Regions from separate parts of the Homo sapiens genome. Here all the other regions are linked to region 4. Evidence: promoter capture Hi-C in 16 types of primary human blood cells and fetal thymus (Javierre and others, 2016). All regions are on one chromosome and are shown on one strand. The core of a region is centred on a gene start or on the middle of the fragment in contact, and the rest is flanking DNA. Distances in the headings are between cores, read along the strand shown. Region 1 overlaps PAAF1 (proteasomal ATPase associated factor 1). Region 2 overlaps PAAF1 (proteasomal ATPase associated factor 1). Region 3 has its middle 4.3 kb from the start of DNAJB13. Region 4 holds the start of RAB6A (RAB6A, member RAS oncogene family).

Region 1 (3,418 bases), core at 296-2,795, 160 kb after region 4:
GTTTATAGATCACCCCTATGATTCATTTGTTTCATTTGTCCATGCTCTTTTAAGAATTAGATACACTTTTACTTTCTTAGTGTAACTGTCCTCTTTCTCCTAGTGTATACAGTCAAATTTACAGATTGAGGAATAATCTGGGAACATTTTAATAGGGAATATCTACACAAATGTTTCTTTAAAAAATGTTAAAGACATTTTTTAGACATTCCCTATTAAATATAATCTAGGATAAGTTTATAAATACACACACACACACACACACACACCTGTGGTTGCTTGCTCTGTGCCTTTGGCAGGCATTGCTAATCAAAGACATCTCTTTTTCCCACAGAACTTGCACTTGCTCTTCAAATCCAGCCCAGCTCAGCATTCTAGGCAGCCACTATAGATCATCATAATTGGCCCACATAGGCCGGGTATGGTGGCTCACGCTTGTAATCCCAGCACCTTGGGAGGCTGAGGCAGGTGGATCACCTGAGGTCAGGAGTTTGAGACCAGCCTGGCCAACATGGTGAAACCCCGTCTCTACAAAAATTAGCCAGGCGTGGTGGTGGGCACCTGTAATCCCAGCTGCTTGGGAGGCTGAGGCAGGAGAATTGCTTGAACCTGGGAGGTGGAGGTTGCAGTTTGCTGAGATCATGCCATTGTACTCTAGCCTGGGCAAAAAGAACGAAACTCTGTCTCAAAAAACAAAAAAAAAGTTGGCCCACGTAATAAGATCTATTTGCCATTCTGGGTCTTTGGACCATCTTCTTTACACTAGTGATCTACAGAAGCAAATAAAAATACTGAGTTTTTAAACTCTGGATGCAGTTTTCTCTTAGTTATATGAATTTTCTTTCTGCCTTTCAGGTGATGGAAGCTGTTTTATTGTCCAGCAAGACTTAGACTATGTCACTGAGCTCACTGGGGCTGACTGTGACCCTGTGTACAAGGTACAGGCCTGAGACGACACCAGACCTGGGTGATTCTCATGAGAGATCTAGGGCTTTTATGAGACTGAATCCAGATACCTTGTGGTCATTAGGGATGATAAAATAGTGCTTATTGTATAAGCAGTGTGGTAGGATGGCAAGAAATCAAGAGCTTAACTCAGAAGTGATTTCTGGGCCAGGCATGGTGGCTCACGCCTGTAATCCCAGTACTTTGGGAGGCCGAGACAGGTGGATCACTTGAGGTCAGGAGTTCAAGACCAGCCTGGCCAGCATGGTGAAACCCCGTCTCTACTAAAAATACAAAAAAATTAGCTGGGCGTGGTGGTACATGCCTGTAGTTCCAGTTACTTGGGAGGCTGAGGCAGGAGAATCGCTTGAACCTGGGAGGTGGAGGCTGCAGTGAGCCTCAAGATCGTACCACTACACTCCAGCCTGGGCAACAGAGTGAGACTCCATCTCAAAAAAAAAAAAAAAAAAACAAGTGACTTCTGGCTGACAGCTGTAACCCCAGCACTTTTGGAGGCTGAAGCAGGTGGATCACTTGAGCCCAGGAGTTTGAAACCAGCCTAGGCAATAAGATGAGACCCCCGTCTCTACAAAAAATACAGAAAAATTAGCTGGGCATGGTGGCACACACACCTGTAGTCCCAGCTACTCATTTGGGAGGCCAAGATGGGACGATTGCTTGGGCCTGGGAAGTTGAGGCTGCAGTGAGCTGTGATTGTACCATTGCACTCTAGTCTGGGCAACAGAGTGAGACCCTGTCTCAAAAAAAAAAAAAAAAAGTGACTTCATCACTTACTAGCTCTAGAAACTTAAAAACTTACTTTACCTCACTAGTCTGTCAATTCATCTGTAAAGATAGTAATCTGAAAACTCTTTGTAAATACATTCTATAAATATTATTCATTCTTATTATTATTAAGACTTCTAGACTGATTTTTTCATTTGATTCAAATAGAGAAAAACAAAAGGGGAATATTTATTGACCAGACACTGTGCTGAACGTTTTATATACGTTATCTCATGTAATCTTTGTTACTATTTGTTGAGGTGTAGGTATTACTATTCCTATTTTTTCCTATAATTTAAAAAAAGTTGTACAATTAATATCTGTAAAAGTTCAAACAATACAGAATGATACAGATTTAAAAGTCTCCTTTACGACCTTTTTGGTTCCCTTTCTCTTTTCCAGAAGTAACTAGCATTAAAAGTTTGGCACATATTTTTCAAGACTATTTTCAGAGAATTTGCACACTTACATCTTTATGTATTAATGTAAATAATATACTTTTATCTTCAGTTTGTACGTAATTGAGACTATCTCTATATATTGCCCTGTGACTTTTTTTTAATTACCATCTTAGAGCTGTTTCCAGGTAAATGCATATAGATCTATTTCTTTCTTTCTTTCTTTCTTTTTTTTGAGATGGAGTTTCGCTCTTGTTGCCCAGGCTGGAGTGCAATGGCGCGATCTCAGCCCACAGCAACCTCCGCCTCCCAGGTTCAAGCGATTCTCCTGCCTCAGCCTCTCGAGCAGCTGGGATTACAGGCATGCGCCACCACACCCGGCTAATTTTGTATTTTTAGTAGAGACGAGGTTTCTCCATGTTGGTCAGGCTGGTCTTGAACTCCCGACTGAGGCCTGCCTCAGCCTCCCAAAGTGCTCGGATTACAGGCGTGAGCCACCGCGCCCAGCCATCTATTTCATTTTTAAAAATTCTTGCGTAGTGTTCCGGCCGGGCGTGGTGGCTCATGCCCAGCACTTTGGGAGGCGGAGGGGGTGCGAATCACGAGGTCAGGAGATTGAGACCATCCTGGCCAACACGGTGAAACCCTGTCTCTACTAACAATACAAAAAATTAGCCAGGCGTGGTGGTGGGTGTGTGTAGTCCCAGCTACTTGGGAGGCTGAGGCAGGAGAATGGCGTGAACCCGGGAGGCGGAGCTTGCAGTGAGCCAAGATGGCGTCACTGCACTCCAGCCTGAGCGACGGAGCAAGAGTCTGTCTCAAAAAACAAACAAACAAAATTCTTGTGTAGTGTTCCATATTTTGAATCAACACATTTCCATTGTACAAATGAGGCAACTGGGGCCTGGGGGGTTGAGAAAGTTGCCCTAGGTCATGCAGCTAGTTGGTAGTAAAGCTGAGACTAACTCCAGAATTCATGCTGTTTTCCTTGAGGAGTTGATGAAATCCTCCTCAGAAAAAAAGACACATATTCAGAACATTTTTGCATCCAATTTTATAAGGTTCAAGAATAGTCAAGCCCATCTCTGAACCATCTCCTCCCTAGAGGCAGACCATCTGTGCTAAACCTGAACAATACTAATGGGTTTGCTTTCCACTTGGGCCAATTAGTTTCTCTGTTATATAGTCATGGTGCATCCCAACCATTGGTGATTGGGATGCATCCATCACTATGGGCCAACAATTTTTGTAAGCACATAATTATGGATGTAATTCTGTTGCCTTCATAA
Region 2 (3,732 bases), core at 180-2,679, 140 kb after region 4:
GGTTTACTTCCATGATGTAAGAAAACGGGTACATTGAGAGGGAATAGAAACAATATTCAGAGCCTTCCTTACATTACTGAAGAACTCATCACCTCCTGAAGAACTGAGAGATTGAAGGAGTCAGAATGGCCTACAGATCTGGGGAGTCCAGGAGCCAAAGTAGTCTAGAGGAACAGTGCAAGCTTCACCTCCGATCTGGCCATCCCTCTGAAGGTGTGGGCACAGGAAAACATTTCAGTGGAACAAGTCATGACTCAGCATGTTGAACTTAATTAACAAGATGCATATTCAACATCAGTGCACATCCAGTTTATAAATACCTTTGGATCACTGCAATTATTGTTCCCTTTACAGAATCCTAAGTCTCCCAACATTCCTTAATTCTCCCTAAGAATATGTATGGACCTTTAGCTTAGAGTAAATAGTAGAATGTTATTTATTTATTTATTATTATTTTTTTTGAGATGGAGTCTCACTCTGTCTCCTAGGCTGGGGTGCAGTGGCGCGATCTTGGCTCACTGCAACCTCTGCCTCCTTGGTTCAAGCAATTCTCCTGCCGCAGCCTCCCCAGTAACTGGGATTACAGGCATGCGCCACCATGCCCGGCTAATTTTTTTTTGTATTTTTAGTAGAGACTGGGTTTCACCATATTGGCCAGGCTGGTCTCAAACTCCTGACCTTGTGATCGCCTGCCGTGGCCTCCCAAAGTGCCGGGATTACAGGCGTGAGCCACTGCGCCCGGCCTAGAATGTTAAATCAATTTAGATATAAGCTTTTATTCATGTAGTTGTTCCATTCTTTTGGCCTTGTGAGAAAGTCCTGGGGTAGAGTAGTGCCTTCTGCAGAGTATAACAGCCCTGACTTTTTTCTTGAGAAGGGAGTTTTTAGTAGATTGAACGGAATGATATACTTTAGAAGAAATGACATGAAGTCAGATCCAGGCTGGCCTCTTATCAGGTCACAAAGGCTCCTTTCCAGTTCGTTGAATAAAGTAGCCCCAGGTTTGGGGTTGCCCATTCTTCCACAGCGTGGCAAAAATCAGGATTGATCTCTGATAGCTTAACAGCGTATATATAGATAGATCTGATAGCTTAGCAACCTATAGATTGACCGATCATCACTGTCTCCAACCAAATGACTTCCAAGTTGCTTTGTGTGACTTAAAAAGAAAAAAAATCTTGGTCCGGGCACTGTGGCTCATGCCTGTAATCCTAGCACTTTGGGAGGCCGAGGCGGGTGGATCATCTGAGGTCAGGAGTTCAAGACCAGCCTGGCCAACATGGTGAAACCCAGTCTCTACTAAAAATACAAAAATGAGCTGGGTGTGGTGGCTGGAGCCTGTAATCCTAGCTACTTGGGAGTCTGAGGCAGGAGAATCGCTTGAACTCAGGAGGCAGAGGTTGCAGTGAGCTGAGATCACACCATTGCACTCCAGCCTGGCCAACAAATGAAACTCTGTCTTCAAAAAAAAAAAAAATCTCTTATGAGATTTTGAAGCATTTTGTTCAGAGCCATGAACCCATATAAAAAGAAACATTAAAAAAAATTGGCCGGGCGCAGCGTCTCACCCCTGTAATCCCAGTACTTTGGGAGGCCGAGGTGGGAGGATCACCTGAGGTCAGGAGTTCAAAACCAGCCTGGCAAACATGGTAAAACCCTGTCTCTACAAAAAATACAAAAATTAGCCAGGTGTAGTGGTGTGCGCCTGTAATCCCAGCTACTTGGAAAGCTGAGGCAGGAGAATCACTTGAACCTGGGAGGCAGAGGTTGCATTGAGCCAAGATTGCACTACTTCACTCCAGCCTGGGCAACAGAGCGAGACTCCGTCTCAAAAAAAAAAAAAGTATATATATATACATAAATTGGTCCCCCAATTGTGTGTGTGTGTGTATTTAAATATATATAACTAAAGGATTAGTTTGTTCTCTACTTAATTAACAAGCAGAGGTAAGGTTTCTGTGTATGCTGAATTTTTCAAGTGGAAAGGTAGACTAAAAGTAGTTTTGTGATTGTAACATATGAGTTCAATAAGTAATTCTAAAATGCACTTTAATCAGTTTGAAGTTAAATTGCCCAGGCCATTTAAGTAAGCTTGTGAAATTTGGGGATATACATTTATAATCCTAATTCTTTATAATAAGCATTACATCTTTCATAATCAGTGAAACATTGAGACCAAATTACACCCTATTTTAGTTAACTAGTTGGCTTTATTTTTATTTTTTTTCTCATAATGGTAGTGGAAATGCTTACATTTATAGAATAATTTTAAGAAACCAGGTTGCAGTATCAGCACTTGCGCCATTATTTTCCAAGTCTTAAATACTTTCTTAGAAATTGGCTATGCCGCCTCCAAGTAATAGGAGGTGCTTCAAGGCTTATTTTTTTTTCGGAGATCTGAGTCATAGCCATTAATTTTCCCATATACGCATGTATGTATATTGCTCCCTAGCAACATTAAAACAGCTTAATATGATAGAGAAACTAAATAAATACACTTGTTAAGAATATACACCTGGGAATATGAAATTTGCTTTATTTCTTACAAATATTTATTTCAGGAATAGTTTCATCTAATGTTATTCGTATTTCCAGACTTTGGCTGGGATGCTCGTATGTGATTCTGCTGAATCTTTTCTTGAAGGCAAATGCTTTTGTGTTCTGGTTTGTATGGTGAAGACTTGTATCTATTTGGTTTGATATCTAAAGCCTTTTCCAGCTGGGTGCAGTGGTGCATGTCTGTAATCCCAGCTATTTGGAAGGCAAAGGTAGGTAGATCTCTTGAGGCCAGGAGTTCAGGGCTGCAGTGTGATATAATTGTGCCTGTGAATAGCAATGGCACTCTAGTCTGGGCAATATAGTGAGATCCCATCTCAACAAAACAAAACAAAAATAACAGTAAAGCTTTTTGCAGCTTCTGGTAAGTCTTAGCTATGGCTGCTTCTCTTGGAAAGGCATTCTTGAAATTGCTGCTTTCTTTTTTTTTTTGAGACAGAATCTCACTCTGTTGCCCAGGCTGGTGTGCAGTGGCGTGATCTCAGCTCAGTGCAACCTCCGCCTCCTGGGTTCAAGTGATTCTTCTGCCTCAGCTTCCCAAGTAGCTGGGACTACAGGTACACGCCACCATGCCCGGCTAATTTTTGTATTTTTAGAAGAAACTGGGTTTCACCATATTGGCAAGGCTGGTCTCAAACTCCTGACCTTGTGATCCTCCCTCATTGGCCTCCCAAAGTGCTGGGATTACAGGCATGAGCTACCATGCCTAGCCAAAATTGCTACTTTGATAGCTTCTTTCTAAAGTCATTCTTCATAGGTTCCCACTTCTCTAGGCTCCTCTTTTCTTTATTCTTGTCGTGTAAGTGTTAAGAGACCCACACTAGATGCTGTTACATTATGAGTGACATTTTATTTACTAAAGAGAGGGTGATAATTTTCCACTCTGCTTTTATAGAAAAGGAAAACTATCTAGATTGCAGCTCTTTGGTGAGTATTACTTGAAATTTATACACAATTAATAATATAGTCAGCTTTCTAGCCACAGCTATAGCATCCCTGCCTTGAATACATACTTTTCAGAATTTTTTTTTTCCAAAAGCATGTATCACTTCCGTGGAACTCAGTAGCATTTTGAAATAGTGGTTGGAACTTCCAGTAGAGACATAAGGAGATCTTTGATTGCTTAATAAGAGCTGAAAGACCTTCCTTATGGTGATTCCTTAGGATTCTTAAAAG
Region 3 (3,192 bases), core at 262-2,761, 190 kb after region 4:
CCCAAAAGAGAGTTTGTCCATCTTTGCTAAATTTAGAATGACACTGATTTGCCCAGTGATTTCCCTTTTTACATCGGGGGCAGATACCGGAACTTTTTTTGCTGCTTACTGGTAGTAACCTTTGCCTGTTGATTTCCTTTTTTACATTCCTTTTTTGTGTGTCCAAATTGCCCACAATTAAAACAAGAACCCGAGAAACGAGGCATATTTTTTCCGGCTTTTAATCCAGCCATAGCCTGAGCTAAAAGAGTAGCCTCATGTAAGTTACCCCCAATGCCATCACAAGCCTTAATATACTCAGCCAAATGAGGCTTCCCTCTCCTAGGTCGAATAGCAGTTTGACATTCTGCATTGGCATTATCGTATGCAAGAAGCTTTATTACAACATCTTGAGGTTGTTTTGTCAGTTATGGCTTTATACACAGCCTCCTGGAGCCGAGCAATAAAATCAGTATATGGTTCCTTGTCAGACAGAACTGAAAGATGGATATTTTTCCTCTATAACATTTATTCTTTCCCATGCCCTTAAGCATACAGAGCATAACTGAGCAATGGCAACATCCTCCATTAATGCTTGATTGTCTAATCGACCCCTGTTAGGGCTGACCCCCATTAACTGTTCAGAGGACACAGGCACAGGCGGCTGTGCCTGTGTGTTTTCTCTTGCCTGAGTTTGAGCTTCATTAGCCCACCAAGTTTTAAATTGCAAGTACTGAGACAGAGTGAGAACAGATTTTGTTAAAGTATCCCAATCATATGGTACTAACCTATTATCAAGAGCCACATTTTTTAGTAAAGTTCACACAAAAGGAGAATTTGGCCCATATTGACTAATGGCTTGCTTGAATTCTTTTAATAACTTAAAAGGAAAAGTGGCCCAATTAGCTGTATTCTGTCCTCCTTGTTGGGTTATAGTAACTGGAAATTGCCATGCTTCAAGGTGTCCTTCAGCTCTAGCCTTCTGAATAGAATTTTGTATAGCACCACCAGTTGCTTCAGATTTTAATGTTGTCACTACAGGAGCAGTAATTTTTACAGCTGCTTCACTTTCTCACCCATTGTGGGAGAGGGAGGAGGTGGCCATTCACTTAATTCAGCAGGCGGAGCTGATGGACCAGTAAAATATGTCTTTTTCAGCTTTCCTTTCTTTTCTATGATTTCCTCCGGCTCCTGTGCCTCGCGTTCAGAATCTGATGTTAGTTTCTTACACTCATCCTCCTCTTCTTCATCTGAATCTGCCTCATCATCTGTTTGAAATGGCTCAGGAGCTGCCTTTATTAACGCCCACACTGACCAAACAGAAACTGGAATTTTGGCTCCATCTTTATATGCCTTTTTAAAATCTCTGCCAGTTCTTTCCCATTCATCCAACTCCATAGTCCCTTGTTCCGGAAGCCATGGGCAGAACTGCTCTACTGTGCTGAAAAGTGTTAATAGACTTTGAGTACTAACTTTCACTCCCCCTCTCCGTAATAAATGCCTTAAGAAATTTAAATAAGCAGAATATTTGCTTTCATTCTGTCCCATTGTTACCCTGGTTCTTCCAAGCGTCCAGCTTACCTGCCGAGCTTCTTTCAGTCATCCTCTGGTGTCCTCTGACAATTGTCCTCTGCTTCCGCATGCTCTAGCGTTCCTTCACAGGGGTTTTCGTTGCCCCACATTGGGTGCCAGAAATGTTGGAGTGATCAGACCCAACACCAGGCTGTGGGGGCTACAAAGTCTGGCAGAGTCGAAGGAATGAGACAAGACAAGAATGCATAAAGTGGGTCCAGGGGGCCAACACCAGTATGGCAGCTGCGAAGGCCCTGAGCTCTGGGAGCCCACGCTCTTTATTGGTGATCAAACAGAAGCAGGTGGTGAGGACGTGAGGACATGGGGTTAGAAAGGAAGCGGTGCATCAAGCGTTTGACCTATAGCTGTGGCAGTTTAGCATTTTCTTTTAAGCATATGGAGTATGCTCTGCTACTCGAGATAATGGAGAACGTGTTTTTCTATCTCAAGATAACAATCAATTTACAAACCTGGGACAGCAAGAAGCAAGGAGCCAGCAAGTCTGGACACATTCCAGAGGCCACAAGGGGTTTTATTCCCTGAGCCCTGGATTGCATCCAAGCCACGAGGGGTTTTATGCCCTGGGCTTAGATTGTGGTGTGGCAGGGCAGCCTTCCACCCTTTGGCACAGAGCTTGGTGTTCCAAAGGCCACGAGGGGTTTTAGACCCTGGACCCAGGACATGTTCCAAGACTCTCTTACGTTATGTCAGACAAGCAAGACTTGCCTCAGCTCTTCTAGCAACACATTGCCCCAGTGATAGACCAATGGACAGTAGTTCCAGACACCAACCCATGCATATGTGGAAATTTCATATCTAACACAGCAGTCAGTACAGATCGGTGGGAAGACAATGGACAATTAAATAAATGATCTGAGCAGTTGGATATCTTTCAGAAAAGATACTATCTTGCTCCATATACAAAAAAATAAACTCTAGGTGTGTTAAATATTTAAATGTGAAATGGACTTTCGGAAGATCATATAGGTGAAGATCTTTATGCCCTCACATAAGGAAATATTTCTTAAACTAGACACACACAAAACGTGTAACCAGAAAGGAAAAGATTGATACATTTGACTTTTAAAAAGGTGAAAAAAGCTTCAAGTTGAAGAAAGGATTCGTATTTCATATTATCAACAAAGAGTTTGTTTTCAAAAAACATAAAAAGCCACTAGTCAGTTTTTTTTTTTTTTTTTTTTTTTGAGACGGAGTTTCGTTCTTGTTGCCCAGGCTGGAGTGAAGTGGCACAATCTCTGCTCACCGCAACCTCTGCCTCCCAGGTTCAAGCTATTCTTCTGCCTCAGCCTCCCAAGTAGCTGGGATTACAGGCATGCGCCACCATGTCCAGCTAATTTTGTATTTTTAGTAGAGATGGGGTTTCTCCATGTTGGTCAGGCTGGTCTTGTACTCCTGACCTCAGGTGATCCATCCACCTCGGCCTCCCCAAGTGCTGGGATTACAGGCATGAGCCACTATGCCCGGCCTGTCAGTTTGTAAAAAGGATAGTCAAATAGAAAAAAATGGGCAAAAACATAAATAGGTGTTTCACAATGAGGAAAAACAAATGGCCAATAAGTATGAAAAGATACTCAACCAAGAAATGCAAATTAAAATCCACAATGAGATGCCACTTTATGC
Region 4 (3,666 bases), core at 1,095-3,594:
GCATCACAACATAAGGAAGGCAATAATATCCTTAGAATGCACAATAAGCACTTTGGATCCTTTTTATCAATAATAACCAATAAACTATATTTTATGTTTGGGAACTATCCTGATATTGACACAGAAAAGCTGGACTAGAAGCAACTCCATAGGTTCTACCAAGTTACTCACCTAAAGACACAAGTTTATACTTACTTCAGGAAAATATATAAGCAAAAAGGAGGGAGATTGTATTTTTCCCCCCAAAAGGGAGGAGGGGAAGATAATCTACACATGAAAGGAGAAAAATGATTTCCCAGTTCTAACTGGAGGCAATTTTGCAAGAGTATTAACCTCTGTGATGGCATACAAATTAGTATAAATAGTTCAAAGTAGTAATAAAAGCTACGAATTTATATCACTTACATGCCTTCCAGTCAAAACAAATAACTAATGTTTTCTATAACCTCACCTAAAACACCTAGTAGGTACTCAATGTTTGATGACTCAGAACTAATCTCTCAATGTCTGAATTTTAAAGATGGGCATGCAAAGTATGAGAAAAACAAAGGAGGGTAATCATCTCTGAATTGTCGAGTGTCAAGTTTGTATAATACAGCATAAAACTGGAATTACTACAAGAAGTAATCGTAGATACAACCATCACAAAATTAGGATCTAGTATCTAATACAAAAGTACAGTGACAGCAGAACCTGACCAGGTAAATGACATAACAATTTCACTCATCAGACAGTACAGAATATTAAGCATAAAAGAATTATTTAGCCCAAATGGTATTTAAATCTAATTTAGGTAACTAGATGATGAGTCTGTTCCTACTCTACTCCATTTTCCAAAGGAAATCCGACAAAACAAAGATGTTTGTTATTCCAAGCCTTCTCTCACATGAATCCTCAATATATCATTGGAAAATACTCAAGAAGGAATGAATAATTAACATTTCCCCAGTAATTCCCTTTTGTACCACCATGAGACTCAGACGCTGCTTCATGTTGAAAAGAGAAAAAGGGGAGGTGAGATGAGAAAAATTCCAAGTAAAATGATCATGACATAGCATCTGGCAGAGATTGAAAAATCATCAACATTGCCAAAAGAATTGTCAGTGATGAAAGTCAAGAGAACAAAATGAGGTTTTCCGACAAGCCACAGCCCCATCTAACCTAAGGGGCAAAAATCTCCACTGCCGACGCTACCCCTTTCACCCCCAACCACCCCATGCTCAAGTCGTCTCCAATTCAGATGTTTCCTCTATGGCCCAGACTAATTTCCCACCCAGGTGAAAATCATTTAATTTTTTCTACTACCACCCCTTCCCACCTTCCACGACATCAGCACTTCGCAGGGCCAAGCCTCTGGGGAAAACAACGCCCAGATCCCACCCTCCTTGGCCAAGGTTGAAGAGGGCCCGCTCTCGGGAGTGGGGCTTCCCTGAGTGGGCCTCACAGAGCTGAGGAACTGGGAAAAGAGCAAGGAATAAGGGTGGGGCTCAAGAAAGGGGGCCGGGGTACGGGCAATGACCGAGACCGGAGGAAGAAAGGGATGGACAAGAGGCTGGGCGGGGTGAGGTCTGGGGAGGGAGGGCAGATCGACCGGAGATGGCCGGACTGCGGGGAACGGAGCCGGGGAGTCGAGGATTGAAGAACCCGGGGAACAGGGTAAAAACTCGGCCACTGGCGAAGAGCCAGTGGCACCGGGGGGCACATCGGGAAGGGCTGCGGTGGCAACGAGCGCGGACGCGAGGCGGGCAGGGAGCCTCCGCGGACGGAAGGGCCGCACCGGGGGCGGTGCGGGGACGCTGCGGCCAGCTGCCAGGAGTAGGGGAGCCACGCACTCACCGCTTTGCTCCCCCAGGAACACCAGCTTGAATTTCCTCAGCGGATTCCCGAAGTCTCCGCCCGTGGACATTGTGGAACTAGAGGAGCGGCCGCCGCCTCAGCCTAGAGACCTCCCGGACCGATGCTGCTCCAGCCAGCTGACGAAAAAGGCGAGCGGAAGGGCGGGCACCGAGCTCTCTCGGCCCCTGCAAGGCCCGGTGGAGGAGCCCGGCTGGAGGGCAGCAGGACTCTCCACAGACTGGCAGCCGCCGCCGCCTCCCGGCAGAGTAGCCTAGCACCGAGCGAGGCCCGCGGCTGGGAAGGGAAGGAGGGCGGTGTCGGCAGGAGCCAGGGGTGTCCTCTGGCTTCCCAAAGCTAGGGCCGTTCCCTCCTTCCGCACTCGGCTCCCAGACCTGGGGAAGAGAAGCTGAGGGTGGCGGAGCCGGAACCGCAGACGTATCTGGGACCTCTCACGCGCAGCGCCTGAGCTTCCACAGCTGCCGCCGCCGCCGCAGCCCAACCTGCTGAGTGCGCGAGCCTCTGGAGCGGCGCGGGGCGAGCCCGGGCGCGAGCCTGCGGCCCCGCCGGCCGCTGGCGTGCGTGCGTGCGTGCATGCGTGCGCGCCACCGCCATCGCCATCGCCTTCCTGGTTTGGACAGCTCTACCGGCTCCTCCCGCACGGCGGCGACGGGGCAGGTTAGGTTTCCACTGGCGTCAAAAGAAGCCAGGAGGAGGCGGGGCAAGCCAGGGATAAGTTAGTGGGAGGCTGGAGCCCTTACGTCACTTACATAATGAGCCAATCGGAAGGGGCTGAGGGCGAGCCCACACGCGAGTGAGGTGGCAGCGTGAGAGCGCGCGCAGCCCTCGAGCTGTGGAAAGCGGAGCACTGTGGCGGCCATAAGAAGTGTGGCGCCTCTCAGCCTGAGGGGAGGGGAAGGAAAGAAAGGGGAGGGGGAGAAGGGTGGGGCGGAGGCGGGGCCGGGACAAAGGTGGAATATGATCCCCCAAAAAGTGTGGGTGGGGTCCTATAGCCTTAAAATTTGTAATGGGAGCCTCTTTCCTGAGCCCTCAGCCGTGCCTCACAGTCCTCAGATCCCTTCTTCACCATTGCACACACCCCACCTTCTCCATCCTCTCATCATAATTCCTCACAGGCATCTTACTAAATAACATTCTCCTCCATTGCTCCCAGGAATGTTATAACTGCCAGAATCATGGCCTCCCAATTTTGCAGATGAGGAAACTGAAGCTTAGAGGGAGTAAATGACTTGCAAAATCCATAAAGCGGGCTGGGCGCGGTGGCCCACGGCTGTAATCCCAGCACTTTGGGAGGCGGAGGCGAGTGGATCACGAGGTCAAGAGATCGAGACCATCCTGGCCAACATGGTGAAACCCTGTCTCTACTAAAAATGCAAAAATTAGCTGGGGGTGGTGGCGCGCGCCTGTAGTCCCAGCTACTCGGGAAGCTGAGGCAGGAGAATCGCTTGAACCCGGGAGGCGGAGGTTGCAGTGAGCCGAGATCACACCACTGCACTCCAGCCTGGCGACAGAGCGAGACTCCATCTCAACAGAAAAAAAAAAAAAAAAAAAAAAAAAAAGCCGGGCGTGGTGGCTCATCCCTGTAATCCCAGCACTTTGGAAGGCTGAGTTGGGTGGATCACCTGACGTCAGGAGTTCCAGACCAGCCTTGGCCAACATGATGAAACCCCATCTCTACTAAAAATACAAAAAATTAACGTGGTGTGGTGGCGGGTGCCTGTAATCCCAGCTACTTGGGAGGCTGAGGCAGGAGAATCGCTTGAACACGGGAGGCGGAGGTTGCAGTGAGCCAAGGTCACACCATTGCACTCC

The links. Contacts are between HindIII fragments. The CHiCAGO score rates a contact against its expected background, and 5 or more counts as called.
Region 1: a contact is called between a fragment that was not itself captured here and the fragment with the promoter of RAB6A in region 4, in 1 of 17 cell types (M2 macrophages). The highest score is 7.4, in M2 macrophages.
Region 2: a contact is called between a fragment that was not itself captured here and the fragment with the promoter of RAB6A in region 4, in 1 of 17 cell types (M2 macrophages). The highest score is 7.9, in M2 macrophages.
Region 3: a fragment that was not itself captured here is called in contact with the fragment with the promoter of RAB6A in region 4 in 1 of 17 cell types (M2 macrophages); the score reaches 5.0 in M2 macrophages.

Annotation. Positions count from the first base shown.
Region 1 is chr11:73,923,760-73,927,177 of GRCh38, forward strand. It overlaps PAAF1 (proteasomal ATPase associated factor 1), which reads left to right. Exons shown (of 12, transcript NM_025155.3): 11 at 856-938. Among named protein-coding and RNA genes, the nearest start is that of DNAJB13, 26 kb to the right of the region's middle. RefSeq lists an enhancer at 2,643-3,142. The HindIII fragment of the contact is 5,817 bases long and covers 1-3,418 here.
Region 2 is chr11:73,902,254-73,905,985 of GRCh38, forward strand. All of the region lies in intron 6 of PAAF1 (proteasomal ATPase associated factor 1), which reads left to right. Among named protein-coding and RNA genes, the nearest start is that of PAAF1, 27 kb to the left of the region's middle. The HindIII fragment of the contact is 1,319 bases long and covers 771-2,089 here.
Region 3 is chr11:73,945,178-73,948,369 of GRCh38, forward strand. No RefSeq gene overlaps it. Among named protein-coding and RNA genes, the nearest start is that of DNAJB13, 4.3 kb to the right of the region's middle. The HindIII fragment of the contact is 2,278 bases long and covers 373-2,650 here.
Region 4 is chr11:73,758,730-73,762,395 of GRCh38, forward strand. RAB6A (RAB6A, member RAS oncogene family) reads right to left here and starts at 2,345. Exons shown (of 8, transcript NM_198896.2): 1 at 1,837-2,345. The coding sequence starts at 1,906. LOC124902711 (a long non-coding RNA gene) reads left to right here and starts at 2,429. Exons shown (of 2, transcript XR_007062775.1): 1 at 2,429-2,511; 2 at 3,008-3,666. RefSeq lists an enhancer at 1,496-1,996 and silencers at 2,293-2,602, 2,763-2,952. The HindIII fragment of the contact is 8,881 bases long and covers 1-3,062 here.